2 separate regions of the Homo sapiens genome follow, and region 1 is linked to region 2. The links are contacts of gene promoters, found by promoter capture Hi-C in human tissues and cell types (Jung and others, 2019). All regions are on one chromosome and are shown on one strand. Each heading gives the region's core, a stretch centred on a gene start or on the middle of the fragment in contact. The rest is flanking DNA. Distances are from core to core; before and after follow the strand shown. Region 1 overlaps SLC9A8 (solute carrier family 9 member A8). Region 2 holds the start of KCNB1 (potassium voltage-gated channel subfamily B member 1).

Region 1 (3,370 bases), core at 709-3,208, 350 kb before region 2:
CTATCTTGGAAAGTTTGGGAAATATTATATCAGGCCCTTCTCTATCCTCTTACATATATTTAACTCAACAGTACCAGGGTGTGAGTGTTTGTGTGTGTGTGTGTAAGTGTATGCATGGCACACCTGAGTGTATTTATTTATATAAAATTTATGGTAGTATAATGTATCATCCTACTACTTGCTATTTTGTTCAACATTAAGTCTTAGAGATCTAGTCAGGGATTATTATGTATAGATTTGCTTCATTCCTTTTAACAGCTGGGCAGGATAGTATAAAAATGCCACACAGAACCGACCAGGCGTGGTGGCTCATGCCTGTAATCCCAGCACGTTAGGAGGCTGAAGCGGGCAGATGACCTGAGGTCAGGAGTTCGAGACCAGCCTGGCCAACACAGTGAAATACAGTCTCTACTAAAAAAATACAAAAATTAGCCGGGCATGGCGGGCGCCTCTAATCCTAGCTATTCAGGAGGCTGAGGCAGGAGAATCACTTGAACCCAGGAGGCAGAGGTTGCAGTGAGCTGAGATCATGCCACTGCACTCCAGCCTGGTGGACAGAGTGAGACTCCAACTCAAAATATTATATAAAATAAAATGAAAATAAAAATAATAAAAAAAATTGAATAGATATTTTGGAAAAGAAGATATACAAATGGCTGAGAAACACATGAAAAGATGTTCAACATCATAAATCATTAGGGAAATGCAAATAAAAACTACAATGAGATACCACTCCATACCTACTAGGATGGTTATGTAAACCAGAGTATCTGAGACAAGTCTCAGTCAAGTTAGGAAGTTTATTTTGCCAACATTAAGGATGACCACCCTTGACACAGCCTCAGGAGGTCCTGACGACATGTGCCCAAGGTGGTCGGGGCACAGCTTCGTTTTATACATTTTAGGGAGACATGAGACATCTATCAACAATGTAAGATGTACATTGGTTTGGTCTGGAAAGGTGGGACAACTAGAAGCAGGGAGGGGGCTTCCAGGTCACAGATAAATAAGAGACAAACAGTTTCATTCTTTTGAGTTTCTGATTAGCCTTTCCAAAGGAAGCAATCAGATATGCATTTATCTCAACAAAGAGAGGGGTGACTTTGAGTTCTGTCCTTTGTCCACAAGGAATTTTCTTGTGTACAAATTGAGAGGGAGGTATGTTAACTTTTTTATCTTAGTAGCTATCTTTTTAGAAATAGAATGGGAGGCAGGTTTGTCCTAAGCAGCTCCCAGATTGACCTTTCCCTTTAGCTTAGTGATTTTAGGGTCCCAAGATTTGTCTTCCTTTCACAGTTATAATTTTAAAGATGAGAAATAAGTGTTGGCAAGGATATAGAGAAATTGGAACACGCACTCATTGCTGATGGGAATGTAAAATGGGGCAACCACCATGGAAAACAGTTTGGCAATTCCTCAAAAGTTACCTTATGACCCAGCAATTCTACTCAAAGAAACTGAAAACATGTTCATGTAAAAACCTGTACACAGATATTCCTAACAGCAGTATTTCAAACAGTCACAGGGTGGAAAGAGGCCAGGTGTGGTGGCTCACACCTGTAATCCCAGCACTTTGGGAGGCGCAGGTGGGTGGACTGCTTGAGGTCAGTTCAAGACCAGCCTGAACAACATGGTGAAACCCCGTCTCTACTAAAAATACAAAAATTATCTGCGCATGGTGGTATGCACCTGCAGTCCCAGCTACTTGGGAGAGGCAGGAGAATCGCTGGAACCTGGGAGGCGGCGGTTGCAGTAGGCCGAGATTGCGCCACTGCACTCCGGCCTGGGTGACAAAGTTAGACTCCATTTCAAAAAAAAAGTGGGAAGAACCCAAATGTCTATCAACTAATGAGTGAGTAAACAAAATGTGGTATATCCATACAATGTAATATTATTCAGCAATGAAAAGGAATGAAGTACTGGTACCTGCCAGAACATGGAAGAATCTTGAAAATACACCAAGTGAAAGAAGCCAGACACAAAAGACCATATATTTTACCATTCCATTTATATGAAATGTCCACAATAGACAAATCTACAGGGACAGTAATGGTTGCCCAGGGACAGGGAGGAGAGCTAAAGGGCATGTGGTTTCTTTTTGAGGTGATAAAAATGTCCTAAAATTGACTGTGGTGATGGCTGCACGACTCTGAACATACTAAAAATTGTTGTACATTTAAAATGGGTGAATTGGCTGGGCATGGTGGCTCATGCCTGTAATCCCAGCACTTTGGGAGGCTGAGGTCAGGAGTTCAAGACCAGCCTGGTCAACATAGTGAAACCCCGTCTCTACTAAAAATACAAAAAAAGCAGTTGGGCGTGATGGCGGGCACCTGTAATTACAGCTACTGGGGAGGCTGAGGCAGGAAAATCGCTTGAACCCAGGAGGCGGAGGTTGCAGTAAGCTGAGATTGTAGCACTGCACTCCAGCCTGGGTGATAGAGCAAGACTCCATCTCAAAAAAAAAAAAAAAAAAAAAAAAGTGAATTGTGTGGCATACAAAGTACATCTCAATAAAGCTGTTGCCAAATAAAAAGTACCACCGATTGTATGATTCTATTTCTTTATACGAAATGTCCAGGACAGGCAAATTCACAGACAGAAAGTAGATTGGTGGTTTCCAGGGGATGGGAGAAGGGAGAAATGTGGAAATGGGGAGTGACTGCTAATGGGTATGAGTTTCTTTTTGGGGTAATGAAAATGTTCTGGAATTAGGTAGAGGTGATGGTAGTACAACTCTGTGAATATACTAAAAAACTCTGAATTGTGCACTTTAAGATGGTGAAATTTATGATATGTGAATTATATTGTACCTTTTTTTTAAAATCACAACCTTTTGAACCATTGCCCCACTGATGGTTGCCTCCAGCTGTTTGCTATTAACAGTGGTGCTGCATTGAACATGCTTGTACATGCCACTCTGTGTTAAGAGTATCTCCCTGTGGAAGACATTCACAAAAAAAAAAACAAACCCAGACTATCTCCCTAGGGCAGATCCAGAGACTACAAATGGCAGGTTTACAAAGCATAAGCATTTTTAACTCTGAAAATATTGCCAAATTATCCTCCAAAGTGGTTGTACCGACTTACACTTCCACAAGAAAGCGTCCCACATCCTCAGTCGCGCTGGATAATCATCAGATGTTAACATTTCTGCCAACATAGTGGGCAAGAAATTGTACTTTAATGTTTCAATTTGTATTTGATTCAATTTGCATTCAGCAATCATCCTGATTACTAGGGAAGTTAAACCTCTTTCCATGGTTTCAGGCTTCATTTTTAAAGCTTAGTGTTTTTCTGCTTTACTAAAACCTCAACTTTCTTTTTCCCTTCTAAATGTATACCAAACCTTAATGCCATGATTACCTCG
Region 2 (3,332 bases), core at 104-2,603:
GCCGCTGCCCACGGGCGGGGGCGCCCGGGCGGCCGGGACGATGCGCGGTCCCTGGCCCCAGGAGGCGGCCGCCCTGGGGGTGAGTGTTGGGGCGTACGGCCTTCCGTGGGGGTGCATGGGGACACGGACAGGGGGTTTGCCTGCCGCAGCTCGGCCTGTTGGTCTGCTCGGGCTCCGCAGCTCCAGGCTGGAGGGGAGCGGGGTGGGAGGCAGGCAAGGGCTGAGGCCTGAGGGGACGCGCAATCCCCATTCTGGGGCTAAGGCGTGAGCCCTACATGCAGGGGGTGCTCAGGGGAACCCCCCGAAATCACTAGTGCGCGGTAGGAGGATGGCACCTTTTGAAAAGGCCAGAAAATTTAGCTCATTTCCCCGCCTCCCACCTCCCCCACCCCTTCCCTTCCAAGCCCGGGGAAAGGCGCAGAACCCGGAGTTATAAAAAGCCATCGCGGGAGAGGAACGAGGAGGAGGAGTAGGAGGAGGAGGAGGAGGAGGAGGAAGAGGAGGAGGAGGGGGAGAAGGAAGAGGAGGGGGAGGAGAAGGAGGAGAAGGGGGCGGGGAAGGAGCGAGGGGAGGACGGAGCAGGCGGATCCCGAGGACTCTGCCCGCCCCTCCTGCGGTAGGGTTGGGGGCTCAGAGGGAGAGGCGAGAGCGGGCTTTTCCTCCTCGCGGCTCACCTTGTCGCTGGAGCAATCTCAGGAGATGCTCCAGTGTTTGGGAAGAGGGGTCGCTCCAGGACAGAGGGGCTGTTGTGCACACCCCGTCTGTTGTGACCTCGGACAGGTGGGCACCTGGAACCCCCGGAATTCCCCCAAATCTTTTAAGATTTGGAAAAAAGCCCGCTGCCATTCCCCCACCCCCAAAATCTTGATTATCTCGAGAAGGGGAAGGAAAAGAAGAGAACTCGTTAAAAAAAAAAAAAAGAAGGAAAGAAGAAGAAGAAAGAAAGAAAAAGATAAAGAAAGAAAGTTTTCATGCAGCTCCCCCTCTCTCCCCATGGCGGGGCCAGGTTCGGGACTCGATCGGGAGACCCATAATGAAGAGAGTTTCAGCACTCTAAGGGGCGGACAGCGCCCCGGGCGGCTGGGTCGCGCCTGGGCCGCAGAAGCCCAGGGTGGGGCCTCCCGGGCTCCAGGGGCATCTCTTGGGGCCCTCTCCCCGCCCCGAGGGGCGGCCCCTCCCTCCATCCATGGGGTGCGGCGGACTTCAGCACCGGCGGGAGGGACAGCGACCATCCGTCCTACCCCACTGAGCCGCTTAAGCGCGGGGGAAGGTCAAGGCCGGCTGGGAGCCTGGTGGAGAGGTGGGGGGCGGGGGGACAGCATGCCCAGCTCCCCGTTTGCTGACCCGCGTCCGCTTTCGCTTTCTGCCTCGCAGCCGTCGGGATGGAGGTGAGAAGACGGCCGTGACGCGCGCCCGCGGGGCCCCCTGCACCCCCAGCAGCCCACAGCGCTCCCTGCCCCCCTCCCCCGCAGCAGCGGGCCTTGCCGTCGAGTGACAGCGGCCTGGGGGGGCAGGGGGGGCGGGGGCGGCCGGATCAGCGATGCCGGCGGGCATGACGAAGCATGGCTCCCGCTCCACCAGCTCGCTGCCGCCCGAGCCCATGGAGATCGTGCGCAGCAAGGCGTGCTCTCGGCGGGTCCGCCTCAACGTCGGGGGGCTGGCGCACGAGGTACTCTGGCGTACCCTGGACCGCCTGCCCCGCACGCGGCTGGGCAAGCTCCGCGACTGCAACACGCACGACTCGCTGCTCGAGGTGTGCGATGACTACAGCCTCGACGACAACGAGTACTTCTTTGACCGCCACCCGGGCGCCTTCACCTCCATCCTCAACTTCTACCGCACTGGGCGACTGCACATGATGGAGGAGATGTGCGCGCTCAGCTTCAGCCAAGAGCTCGACTACTGGGGCATCGACGAGATCTACCTGGAGTCCTGCTGCCAGGCCCGCTACCACCAGAAGAAAGAGCAGATGAACGAGGAGCTCAAGCGTGAGGCCGAGACCCTACGGGAGCGGGAAGGCGAGGAGTTCGATAACACGTGCTGCGCAGAGAAGAGGAAAAAACTCTGGGACCTACTGGAGAAGCCCAATTCCTCTGTGGCTGCCAAGGTGAGTCTGGGATCTGGGGGCTGCTGGTCTGGGGGGATCTGCTTGCATCCCCATATTGAGGACCACTGCTGGAGGACTCTGGCTTTGTTCCCAACGATGAAGATTAGTAATGGGGAGGGGCTAGGACTGAGTCCCCAGAGGTGAGGACCAACCCCCTCAGACTTTTCCCATGTGGCACTGGTCACTCCATCTTTTTATTATCCAAGACGTTATACCCCTACTTGGTTGGAGAGGTTTCACAGGGACCCATAAAAAGCCACAGCAAGAAGATGGACACTGACGAATAAGAGAGAGAGCACAGAGAGACAACAGTGGCTTGCTGGGGTGGAGTAGGGTTTGCTTCCCTGTGAAGTCCCAGACCTAGGCTGGATTGGATCACCCTGTGATTTTAATATCTCCATATTTATAACCTCACTCTGCCCCAGCAAGGGAAAAAAGCAGCTTACAGACATGCTTACAGGACATTGAGATACTGTCAGATAGTTTAAACATAAGTAAGAAGGGACCCCGAGGGGTGGGTGTGGACCCACACGACACATGCAGTTGGTTGTGGATGCTTGCGGGTGAGGGGTCACCCCCTGGTTACTTATTTATTTGGTGAGTTTATTTCCAGAATGGTTTGGTGCAGCTTGTAAAGATGTTTCAGCTCTTGGAACAAGATGTAAATTTCAAAATAGGAGAGAAAAATGAGGCAATGTGAAAAATAAAGGAGGAGGAGGAGGAGGAGGCAGGAATGAGTTTGAACACAAAGAGTGGGCCAGAGAGTCTTTGGTGCTGCTGGGTAATGGCAGGGGCTGTAGGGGACTGAGGAAGGCTTGGGGTGGGAGCCAAGGCAGGGCAGGAGGGCACTGGTTGATCAGCAACTTCTCTACGTCAGGCTGGGATTTGGGGTTGCCTGGGAAAGATGGGGCCTGTCTTCATGTGCCCGAAGTGCTGGGTGCTGGGAGCAAATGACAAAACAGTGTGTGCAAGGCTATAAAAGAGGTTCTGTGAGGTTCACGGAGAACCCAGAAAAGAGAGATGTTGATGTTGAAATCCAGCAAGACCAACTTGGGAAACATGGGGAGAATGTAACTGAGTGTGGGGCCTAAAAAAAGGGGTCAGGTAAGTAGATTTGTGGTAAAAGAAAGAGGAGAGGAGGAAGCCTAAATATCCAGCCATATCTTACTAGCTAGGGCTGACTCCTGTCCAGCCCAGCCTTTCATTGTGGGGTCTCCGGCTCAGT

Evidence for each region. Contacts are between HindIII fragments. The study calls those that stand out against the background at their distance.
Region 1: a contact is called between a fragment that was not itself captured here and the fragment with the promoter of KCNB1 in region 2, in 1 of the 25 tissues and cell types used here (stomach).

The regions. Positions count from the first base shown.
Region 1 is chr20:49,834,792-49,838,161 of GRCh38, reverse strand. All of the region lies in intron 3 of SLC9A8 (solute carrier family 9 member A8), which reads right to left. Among named protein-coding and RNA genes, the nearest start is that of SLC9A8, 24 kb to the right of the region's middle. RefSeq lists enhancers at 1,090-1,590, 1,591-2,091. The HindIII fragment of the contact is 7,659 bases long and covers 1-3,370 here.
Region 2 is chr20:49,480,689-49,484,020 of GRCh38, reverse strand. KCNB1 (potassium voltage-gated channel subfamily B member 1) reads left to right here and starts at 1,353. Exons shown (of 2, transcript NM_004975.4): 1 at 1,353-2,107. The coding sequence starts at 1,541. The HindIII fragment of the contact is 16,129 bases long and covers 1-3,332 here.